Regions from separate parts of the Homo sapiens genome. Here region 1 is linked to region 2. Evidence: promoter capture Hi-C in human tissues and cell types (Jung and others, 2019). All regions are on one chromosome and are shown on one strand. The core of a region is centred on a gene start or on the middle of the fragment in contact, and the rest is flanking DNA. Distances in the headings are between cores, read along the strand shown. Region 1 overlaps FBXL14 (F-box and leucine rich repeat protein 14). Region 2 holds the start of NINJ2 (ninjurin 2).

Evidence for each region. Contacts are between HindIII fragments. The study calls those that stand out against the background at their distance.
Region 1: a contact is called between a fragment that was not itself captured here and the fragment with the promoter of NINJ2 in region 2, in 1 of the 25 tissues and cell types used here (dorsolateral prefrontal cortex).

What each region holds. Positions count from the first base shown.
Region 1 is chr12:1,563,697-1,569,495 of GRCh38, forward strand. FBXL14 (F-box and leucine rich repeat protein 14) reads right to left here. Exons shown (of 2, transcript NM_152441.3): 2 at 2,297-3,114. The coding sequence ends at 3,052. Among named protein-coding and RNA genes, the nearest start is that of FBXL14, 28 kb to the right of the region's middle. The HindIII fragment of the contact is 3,741 bases long and covers 888-4,628 here.
Region 2 is chr12:661,253-666,845 of GRCh38, forward strand. It overlaps NINJ2 (ninjurin 2), which reads right to left and starts at 2,193. Exons shown (of 4, transcript NM_016533.6): 1 at 2,076-2,193. The coding sequence starts at 2,108. RefSeq lists an enhancer at 5,391-5,593. The HindIII fragment of the contact is 21,671 bases long and covers 1-4,084 here.

The sequences.
Region 1 (5,799 bases), core at 1,508-4,007, 900 kb after region 2:
TGTTGAGGCTGGAATCACAGAGCCACCTCCTAGAAAGGCCCATCGAAGCCTTGGGGGAGCCTCAGAACTGCAGGCTTAGGGCGGCTGATGGTTCTTTTCCTCCTGTCTGTGCCAGGGTAGCAAACTGCATATCACAGCAGATTACTTGGAAGATAACTAAATGAGATATAGGGATGAACTCCTTGGGATGCTGGGATATCAGTGTTGGATTTCATAATATGCAACCACTTTTATGGTGAGGGATTTGGAAGCCAACTGCTGTCGGAATTACTGAAGGTGCCAACATGAGGCCAATATACGCAATATAGGCAAAACCTATTTATAGTAATGTCCCAAACACCATCCAAATTCTTTTGCAGTATAATACTAAACTGTTGCTGATTAAATCTTACTGAAGTCTGTAGACCATAAGCTGGGTTTGAATTTTTTTAAAAAGTAAATTTTCTCTGTAGCAATACATTTAATGGAATCTGATCTATATTACTTCTGCCAAGAAGGAATTCAGAATTACCAATTGGAGTTAATGTGGTACAAAGAACTAGAAACCTCTCATTCTCAGGAAATGGACAGGGCAGGGGGAGTCCTTAATGAAAACACTGTGTCAGTAATTTTTGTGGCTTAAGATCACCACGTGTAGTTCCATGGGTTCAGAATAGATTCTCAGAGATGGGGGTTATAGTAGAAAGAGCAAAGGATTAAGCATCAGGAACCAGATTTACCCCTAGTCCCGTAACCCTGGGTAATTTACCTGCCTTCTTTGTGTTCCCATTTCCTCACCTATAGGAATGGAGGGATTGCGCAGGGTGCAGTGGCTCGTGCCTGTAACCCCAGCACTGCTGGGGGACCAAGGTGGGAAGATTGCTTGAGGCCAGAAGTTCAAGGCTGCAGTGAGTTATGATAGTGCCCCTGCACTCCAGCCTGGGTGACAGGGCAACACCTTGTTTAAAAACATAAAAATAGGCCAGGCACGGTGGCTCATGCCTGTAATCCCAGCACTTTGGGAGGCCAAGGTGGGTGGATCACCTGAGGTCAGGAGTTGGAGACCAGCTTGGCCAACAGGGCGAAACCCTGTCTCTACTAAAAATACAAAAATTAGCCGGATGGGGTGGCGTGTGCCTATAATCCCAGCTACACAGGATGCTGAGGCACGAGAATCACTTGAACCCAGAAGGTGGAGGTTGCAGTGAGCGGGGATTGTGCCACTGCACTCCAGGCTGGGTGACAAGAGTCAAATTCCGTCTCAAAAATAAATAAATAAATAATACAAATAAAAACAAACAAAAAACAATAAAAATTGAGGAATTGGGCTAGATAAGTGGTTTTCGAGACAGAACTTTGAGACAGTTCTTACTTAGGGGCCAGTGGAGATCTCCTCTCCTACCCAATTTTCAACTACATAAATGTTATTTGTTTTGCTTCAACATATGATTTTAGTGGAAAAATAGAGTTCTCCTTCTTTAAAAACATTTTTTTTAAAAAACCACTGGACTAGCTAATTCCTACTCCTAAACCTTTGTAATTCAATATAAGGTCTACCCATCAAATTGTTTAGACTCCTGGATGATACTCATGTTTTTAGGAAGGGTTCCTACACCCAAAGCCCAGGTCAGCCAGTTTCTGCGTGTAGGCAAGTTACTGCGTTAGGACTCTTGTACTAGTGTACAATCTAGAAGTTGCATTGGGGCAGCAGGGAGAGAATTCTTATCAGTGAGTGTTTAGCCTCGTTGTACACAGCAGTTACCAGAACAATTAAGAGAGACAAAAGTTCTCCAACACCTTGATCATCTCTGGTAGACAGCTTTGGAAGACACACATACCGTCTACTTCTTCGGACTTCCTAAGCTGTGGAATAGGGATTCAGTGTCTGTGGTATGAAACGGGGTCTGAGAGTTTCATCCCATCAAACTGACAGGGTAATTTTGAGATGGGGCAACAGGAATTGTAATACTGGGGCAATATTTGCTTGTCATCAGTTTGACATCTTCTTGACATGTGCTCTTTTTGACCCCAGTGATTCTTCATTGATCCCCATGTAAGGTGTCCCATTCCCCCATCCACACTGACTCACCACCAGGAATTGTTGTGTGTTCTGAAGAGGCTCAACCAGTTTCATTTGCCTTCTGTTCAGCTTCCCTCCATCTCTTATCCCCAGTCCTCTGTAAATCCTTACTCCTTCATTAAGTATTCCCTGATTCATGGAAGTGACATGATCCGGTTTAGTTTACAAAACCAGGAAATTATTCCTCTGGACCAGAGAGAGAGAGAGAGAACAAGAAACAACAACAAAAAACCCAAATGGAATCTATAAAGGGAAGACAGATATATTCTACATTGTTCCCATTAAAATGGAAACCCCGTGGGGAGAGGAAATGCATCTGTGGAATGTAGAGTGGATTTCTTTCACATATGGGCACTCAGTAAACATTATTAATGAATGATAATGATTTGTCAGTGATTGAAATTGTTTCAGGGCAGGAACAGGGAATGAAATACGTAGACATTCCTCTATCTCATGGGGAAACTGCTAGGCAGGTCATCCAGATGTATTTTCTTTGGGGAGTTGTGAATTCCTTGTGTGTCCAGCTATCACTATGTAATGATATTTTACGTTCTCAGTAATACATATCATCATTATATATATCATCATCTTATATGTATATATATAATACCCCTGTACATAGATATATGTACACATGTATATATTTATATGTATAAAATTAAAGTGTGGAACTTGTAGTTTCCTGTCGAAGAAGCTTGCAAATTGCAATTCCATCCTAGCAAGTAAAAAGCTGAACAGACTGAAAAAGCAAGTCTCCTTGGATCCATAAAGGAAGCGAGGTCTCAGAGCAAACCACTGTCCCCAGAACTGGAGAAACCGGCAGGAGAATGCAGCTTCACAAGGTACCGGAGCAGAAGCCCTGGGCAGCAGCCTCTGCCCGAGCAGTGACAGGCAGGGAAACCTGAGCTGTCATCACCAGAGTGCCGGAGGCGCAGAGCGGGCAAGTCTGGAAGTTAAAGATCCACGGGAACCATGTCGTTGTCCCCTCTCCCTCACCTTCTGGAGCTTCCCCGAGTTCTCACAGTGAATAATGGAGAAAAATCCCCTCGTGCCTCCTGCAGTGGGAAGAAGAAAAAGGACCATTTTGAAAGAGACTGCCGCACTCTGCTCTTCCTAACGAGGTCGCCTCCCCTAACCCCACCGCGGCTTTATCAGCGCCTAACTGACCTGGGGGAAGGGAAACTCCCACGCCAGCCCACTCTAGCCATCTCCCGGCTCACTTAAGGTGGGGGCGGGAGGGAGGACGGAGACTCATTTGTGAATGTTCAGCTGAGGGGTGCAAGCTCACCAAAACTCTGAGGCCTGATTGTAGACTATAGAGTAGACCTTCCCACCGCACACTCACGGCCTCTTTACAGCAGCTGCCTTTACCCGGTCACAGCCACTATCAAGAAAAAGATATAAGACATACTAAAGGGCAAATAGGGCCTGGCACGGTGGCTGACGCCTGTAATCCCAGCACTTTGGGAGGTCGAAGCGGGCGGATCACCTGAGGTCAGGAGTTCGAGACCAGCCTGGCCAATATGGCAAAACCCCATCTCTACTAAAAATAAAAATTAAAAAAAAGGAAAAGAAAGAAAAGAAAAATTAGCTGGGCGTGGTGGCAAGCACCTGTAATCCCAGCTGCTCAGGAGGCTGAGGCAAGAGAACCGCTTGAACCGGGAGGCAGAGGTTGCAGTGAGCCAAGATCGCGCCACTGTACTGCAGCCTGGGCGACAGAGTGGTACTCTGTCTCAAAAATAATAATAATAATAAAATGAAATAAGAATCAAATAACACATGTTGAAGGGACAGAGCAAGCTTCACAACCAGACTCAGAGACAGCAGGGATGCTGGAATTACCAGGCGGGAAATTGAAAGCAGCTCTGATTAATGTGAGGGGCTGTAATGGATAAAGTAGGCAGCATGCAGGAACAGGTGCGCAATGAAAGCAGGGAGATGGGAATCTAAGAAAAAACCAAATGAAGTGACAGAGAGCAAAGCACGGTGACGGAAATGAAGAATGCCGCTGATGGGCTTTGATGGATTTGTGGACTGGACACAGCTGAGGAGAGGATCTCTGAGCATAAGGTTATCTCAATAGAAACCTCCACATGTGAAAAGGGAAAAGAAAACCCACCCACACGCACACGCGCGCACACACGTGCGCACACACACAGAACAGAATATCCAAGAACTGTGGGACATCTACAAAAGGTGTAGCATGTGTAATGGGAATACCAGGAGGAGGAGAAAGAAGAAATACTTGAAATGGTAATGACAGATTTCTCCAAATTAATGTCAGACACTAAACCACAGATCCAGGAATCTCAGAGAATCAGGACAAATGCCAGAAAAACTACACCTGGGCATATCATTTTCAAACTGCAGAAAATCAAAGATAAAGAAAAAGTCCTGGAAGGGGCCAGAGTGAAAAAAACACATTACCTGTAGAGGAGCAAAGGGAAGAAATGCACCTGACTTATCCTCAGAAACCAGGTGAGCAAGGAGAGAGTGGAGTGAGATGTGAGGGTGGAGAGAGAAAACCCACCAGCCTAGAACTCTGAACCCTGCACAATTATCCTTTAAAAGTAAAGGAGAATAAAGACTTTTTCAGACAAACAAAACTTCAGGGAATTTGTTGCCAGTAGATCTGCCTTGCAAGAAATGTTACAAGAAATTCTTTAGAGAGAAAGAAAATGCTATAGGTCAGAAACTTAGATCTACATAAAGAGGGCAGAGAAGGAATAAGTGAAAGCAAAATAATAACTTATTTTTCTTATTCTTAATCTAACAGATAACTGTTCAAAGTAATAACAACAATGTATTCAATTATGTACCCTTAGATATATACTTATGTGTAAGGGAAATGAGTGACAACAATATTACAAGGGATGAGGGGAGGAATTAGGATTATGGTGTTGTTATAAGAAACTCATACTACCTGTGAAACCCCCCTCTACTAAAAATACAAAAATTAGCCTGGCGTGGTGGCGGGCGCCTGTAATCCCAGCTACTCGCGAGGCTGAGGCAAGAGAATCACTTGAACCCAGGAGGTGGAGGTTGCAGTGAGCCGAGATCACGCCATTGCCCTCCAGCCTGGGTGACAGAGACTCCATCTCAAAAAACAAAAAAAGATTGTCATAGTGGGTCAAAAAATAAGACCCAGCTCTGTGTTGTCTACAAAAAACCCACTTCAGATATAAATTGTGCTTCTGTCAGGTCACTTTAGGCTGACCAGCAAAAGGCACAGTCCTGAGACATGGAGAATAACCCAGAATAATTATCTTTAATAATATAAGCATAATTATAATCTCACAAGTATTTTCATAGGATTGAGATATAAAGAATATATTGAAGCTTTTACAGAACAAAAAGGAAAAGCTGGTGCACCTTTATCTCTGTACATGCAAATTTATATAATCAATGCTTGTTTTGCTTCTCTTTTTTCTCCTTTTCATTTTCCTTTCCAGGTTGAGGAAAGGTAGTGGTTGTTTGTGAAGTGGTCATTTATTTTATCCACTTAATTTCTGATGTTTTCTAATTCTCTCTCTCTCTCTCCCTCTCCTTCCCATTCCCTCTCCTTTTCACCAGGCTTCTCCTCTTCCTTCTTCCCTCTTCAACCCCACGCTCTCATATGCTAAATAAGAAACCACTTCGTTCTTTTTTTTTTTTTTTTTGTCTGAGACGGAGTCTCGCTCTGTCACCCAGGCTAGAGTGCAGTGCCGCAATCTCGGCTCACTGCAAGCTCCGCTTCCCGG
Region 2 (5,593 bases), core at 943-3,442:
TAAATTTTTAATAGAGATAGGGTCTTGCTATGTTGCCCAGGCTGATCTCTAGCTCTTGAGCTCAAGTGATCCTCCTGCCTCAGCCTCCAAAATGCTAGGATTACAGGCGTAGGCCACCGTGCCCAGCCAAAGGTGGACAATAAATTGTAGAAAATAATGGATAACCTTCTGAGCAAAGGAAAATGTAAGATACAAGAATTAAATAGCATATTAGAAGAGAGTGAATGACAAATGAAGAGAAAGGTACACTAACACCTCAGTTACCTGCTAGAGAGAGACATTCATCCAGCCTAGCCAGTCATTTCCTTCTCCTTCCTCCCACCACCTCTTTCCTTCTGAACCTCTGGTTCAGATGCAGAGTCCTTAGCCTGTAACTCTGGATCGTTCAACCCATCAGCACATAAGAAACTTGCTCTTCTGAGAATGAAAATAAGCAGCAACACAATTTCCTTAACAACCAAGGATCTTATAGAGGCAAGAACTAGAAGTAAGAAGAAAACACATACTAGGGACAGAAGACATGGACTGGAGGTCTTGGGCCAATTAGGTGACCTTATTCCTATCTCAGAGCCTCTCCAACTCATGGCTTCCTCAACTCATTCATTTAACAAATGTTTTCTAAAGCAATGACCGTGTACCAAGAGTTGCCTCATGCACTCGGGCTGCAGCAGTGAATAAAACAGGAGAGGCCCTGCCCTCAGAGATCTTGTGTCCTAGTGAGAGTGACAGGCAATACATACTAAATAAATAAGCAGTGTAACTTTAGGTGGTGAGCAGTGCTATGAAAGAAATTAAACAAATGATAAAGACAAATTGGGGAGGAGGCATCCTGTGAAGAGGTTGGTCAGGGGAGGGCTCCTGGGGGAAGTAACATTTGAGCTGAGACCTGAATGTACTAGGAAGGGCCAGCCAGGAGATAAGCCAGGGAAAGAAGGTTCCAGACAGAGGGACAAGCAAGCCTTGCGGTGGGACCGCTCTCGGGGCTGGCTGCCAATCCAGGAAAACAGCACTGGGTATGCAGTTGTACTAGGTGAATGGTTTTGACACAGCACACCAAGCAGTCCTACAGTTCCCTGGTGGTGTCTCAAGGGCGGAGGGGCCAAGGACAGAGACTCTGCCAGACTCACGCCACCCTGCCCAAAACACACACAGAGAACGAGAGAGAGAGAGAGAGAGAGAGACGCGTGCACATACTCTGCTTCAACAAAACAGCTCTTCTTTAATCCGAAGTGTATATTGGGTGGCTGCTTAAGATTTTGTTCGAGGACCAGGTTCAGGGATCAGAAATTCTTGATCTCAAAAGTCCTTTTCCACACTTTGTTTGATTCTCTGCAATGTTACACAGCCTCAGCAGTGGTCATAGAAGGGTTCGTTCTATTCTATCCATTGGCAAGGAGTCACAGAGTGCAGCTCCCAGCAATCTGGCTCTCCTCTCACCGTAACATCCCACCCTTTCCCCTCCAGCAGTGGACTGGAACCTCTGATGCCTTCCAAGCCCATCCCAGCTACAGAGGGACACACATCTCTGCCTCTTCCTAGGAGATTAGACTGATTTCCTTTCCTTGCACTGTCCAAATGAGACGCTTTCTGTCCTACACAGTAGAGCTTTGTGAAGACAGCCGAGAAACGGCTCAAGTTTTTTCCAACCTGTAAAATGCAAAGTTGGCCAGCTGCCTCTCTTCCTAGCCTCAAAACTCATATATTTCCTGTCTCCCCGGCAGCTCTAAGAGAAGTCTCTACTGTCCTGGGGTTTGGGGAAAGCACTGCTCAGAATGTGAAATCATTTTCTGGTAATACGGATCTAATTAGCTCTTTGACTGACAAGAGGAAGCAGAGGCCAAAAGGGAGTTAACCAATCTGTTTTTCAGATATTTCAAAACAAGTGAAGAACCAGATAGGGAAACAGAGAGAAAGAGAAAATAAAGAGACAAAGCCTAGGGAGCATTTGGAGAAGGGAGTGAGTAAGAAGAGAACGGGGAGGGAGAATATCAAGTGACTAAAGTATCAATCCTCTGTTCTTCCAGCTTCACCTCTACTCCCGGTCTCCCCTCTGCTCTCTTCCAGAGAGAACTTACTTGAAGGTCGATGTTTTCTCTTGCTGATTCCATCTCGCTGCCCTCAAGTCCCTTCACACGCACCGGGTGCCGGGAACAGACTGCGTGGGCTCCTCCAGGCTCCGCCGTCTGAGTCTCTGCTGCTTTCTTCGGGTGGGAGAGAGCACACAGCTGGCGGGACAGACCTGCCATTCATCCCTCTGATGTGGGATGCCCGTCTTGGCTGCAGCCTCTGGGGGAGGTGTGCACCTGCACACACGTGTGAGTGTATGTGTGTGCACATGTGTGTGCTCCAGGAGGTGGCACATGGCACACTGATAGGTGACCTTTTGAGTTGGTAGTGACAGCATCATTTTCACCAGTGGCTCCAGTGACCTTCCAGTCCCAGCGGAGCCATCTGAGGTCACCCAGCCTGCTTTGAGCTAGTAGCTTTATGACTGGCAAAGAAATCCTGCATGTTTATCAAGCAAATTGAAAAACAGCCTGAGGACAACGCTATCTGACTTCACCGCTGGGTCCAGTCCCCAGTCGCCACGGGTGGAGTGACCTCCAGCACAGTCTCAATACTGAGGCAGAGGGATTTCCGTTGTTCTTTGCTTTGTTCCCTATATCCCTAAAAGTTTTTAAAAAAATTGTAGTTTACCTAATAGGCTCCAAAGCATAGGCTTTGTTCTGCAAAGTGAGTGAACAATACGTTTTTACTGACGGATTGTTTGATTCCTTCAACTCCTCCCTTGATTAGCCATAGAGGGAGCAGGGAGTAGTTGTACCTTCGAAGCTTGTTTATGCAAACAGTGGTATTCTCCCTACTTTTAAAATAAAATTACCAGGAGGGAGTCTTTTTTTAGAAAGTTTTTTTTTTCCTCTCCTGTTTACCTTAGAGCCCAAAACTCTTCTGGCTTGTTCCTGAAGCAAGGTTTAGACACAAGCTTGTGCAGGTGTGGGTGTGGGTATGTCTGTAGACGTGCATGGCAGGGTGTTAACCTGTAATCCAATTCAGGGCTTGAAGAGGTGCGGGCAGGAGGAAGACAGGCAGAGTCAACACGTTTACCCTCACCACATTCAAATGTAAAAAAAAAAAAAGGCGATTTCTTCAGTTCTATGAAATGCCTTTATAAGTTCCCATCCCTCTGGACAGTGGTGCGAGGGAGGGTTGGATGATTGGATGGGGGCCATATTTTAGTCTAATCTATGAAGCATAGTTGGATTTAATCATTTAAATGGTAAACAGTCCACTTTAGACACAATGCTCAGTCTTTCGGATTTGCAGAAGATGGCACCTAGGTGCACAGGAGGGCGGGGTGGGGACGGTTCTTGCATCTATCCTGTGGCCTCTCCATCTCGGCTCCTTTCTGTTCTGGAGCTGCTGGGCCCACGGGCCCGCCCGAATTGCTGACTGCTGAGGAGACACAGGTCCTGCTCCTGGGTCTTCTGCTGGCCTTGGTGGCTGATGTCTGATATTAGGCCAGAGTCACTCATGGGTGATTCTCTTTCTGCCTTTGAGATCCAGTGTTCTCCCTTGCTGTCTGCGCTACCTTGGCTCGTGGCAATGTGGACCATCCTGAGACCTGGCTTTGACTTGTATGTGCCCCCATCCCACTGTATCCGCTCAGTGGCCCACATCTCTAAGATAAGCCCCTCGAAATTTTCCTGTGAGATGCTTGACCAGTGCTCCTGAGCCCCCTTAGGCACATGGGGACTGAGGGCTGCTGACGAAGGGCAGGGGAAAGGCAAGCTCAGCCCCACTTCCAGCAGAGTTTGCTCTGATGTGGCTGCTCCAACTGACACAGGGCAGTCTGCGAGGTGATCTCCTTCCACATTCCTGAATGGAAATGAGACCTGGAACCCACTCTTCTCAGCACTCCTTAAAAAGTCTACCAGTAATATCTATCACCCCACCGCTCATAATAATACCACTATGTATCAAGCACTATTCTAAGCACTTTTTTTTTTTTGAGATGGAGTCTCGCTCTGTTGCACAAGCTGGAGTGCAGTGGCGCCATCTCGGCTCACTGCAACTTCTGCCTCCTGGGTTCAAACGATTCTCCTGCCTCAGCCTCCCGAGTAGCTGAGATTACTTCTTCCCATAGTCCCCTTAATCTAGAATCAGAAAATGTACGCTTTGTCTTCTTTTTTTTTTTTTTTTTCCTGTTTGGCTGGGATGTATCTGATGTAGAACTCTATGACAACAATTCAAAGGGAAATGAAGAAATTTAGAAAATCCTCTCTCTCAAGAAAACCTGGTTGTCAAAAATATTGTCTTGGCTGGGCAGCATGGCTCATACCTGTGATCCCAGCACTTCGGGAGGCCAAAGCCGGAGGATCTCTTGAGCCCAGGAGTTCAAGACCAGCTTGAGCAACATAGTGAGATCCCATCTGTAGAAGAACTTTTTGGCTGGACATGGTGGCTCACACCTGTAATCCCAGCATTGTGGGAAGTAGAGGCAGGAGGTCACTTGAGCCCAGGGGTTCAAGACCAGCCTGGGAAACACAGTGAGATCCTGTCTCTACAAAAAAAAAATTTTTTTTTAATTTAGCTAGATGTGGCAGCTTGCAGCACCTGTAGTCCCAGGTACTTGGGAGGCTGAGGTGGGAGGATTGCTTGAGCCTGGGAGCTGAAGGCTGCAGTGAGCTATGATCATGACACTGTACTCCAGCCTGAGTTGACAAAGCAAGACCATGTCTTAAAAAAAAAAAAAAACTTTCTGGAAAACCTTATTTCGGATGCCAGAAGCAAAATATTAACTATTTATTTCTCTTTGCACTCCTGTTGTGAAAATCCTCATTATCTTTTAAATAATATGGATACATCTGGCTGAATAGAGGGAAACAGGAACAAAAAAATGCAAAAGAGAAAAGTACTCGAATATATTTCAAAAAATTTCCTATTAATAAGCACATTGGTTTGAAAAGGAAACAGCTGTAATTGGTTATAATAATGGTTTTGGTTTGGCAAGATCTTTCTGGATTTGGACCTTTCCCCATCTCATAAGCATCATTTGGAAGTAAACAGAAAAAAGGCTTTGGAAAATGGTTTATCTACCATATCACGCTGTAACCCTGGACCAGGGGTCAGCAAAGTTTTTCTTTTTCATTTTTCCCTTTTATAAAATTCAAATTGCTATATGAAGCTTTTTTAATTTTAATTTTAATTTTTTGAGACGGGGTCTCACTCTGTCACCCAGGCTGGTGTGCAGTGGCACAGTCTCTGCTCACTGCAATCTCTGCCTCCTGGGCTTAAGTGATCCTCCCACCTCAGGCCCCAACCCCCAGCCCAGTAGCTGGGATTACAGGCGCGTGCCACCATGCCTGGCTAATTTCTGTATTTTTTGTAGAGACGGGGGTTTCGCCATGTTGCCCAGGCTGGCCTCAAACTCCTGAGCTCAAGCGATCCGCTCACCTCGATCTCTCAAAGTGCTGGAATTACAGGCGTGGGTCACCATGCCCAGCCAGTAAACTTTTTCTGTAAGGGGCCAGAGAGCCAATATTTTTTAGCCTTTGTGTGTCATATGGTTTCTGCTGCGATGACTCACTTCTAT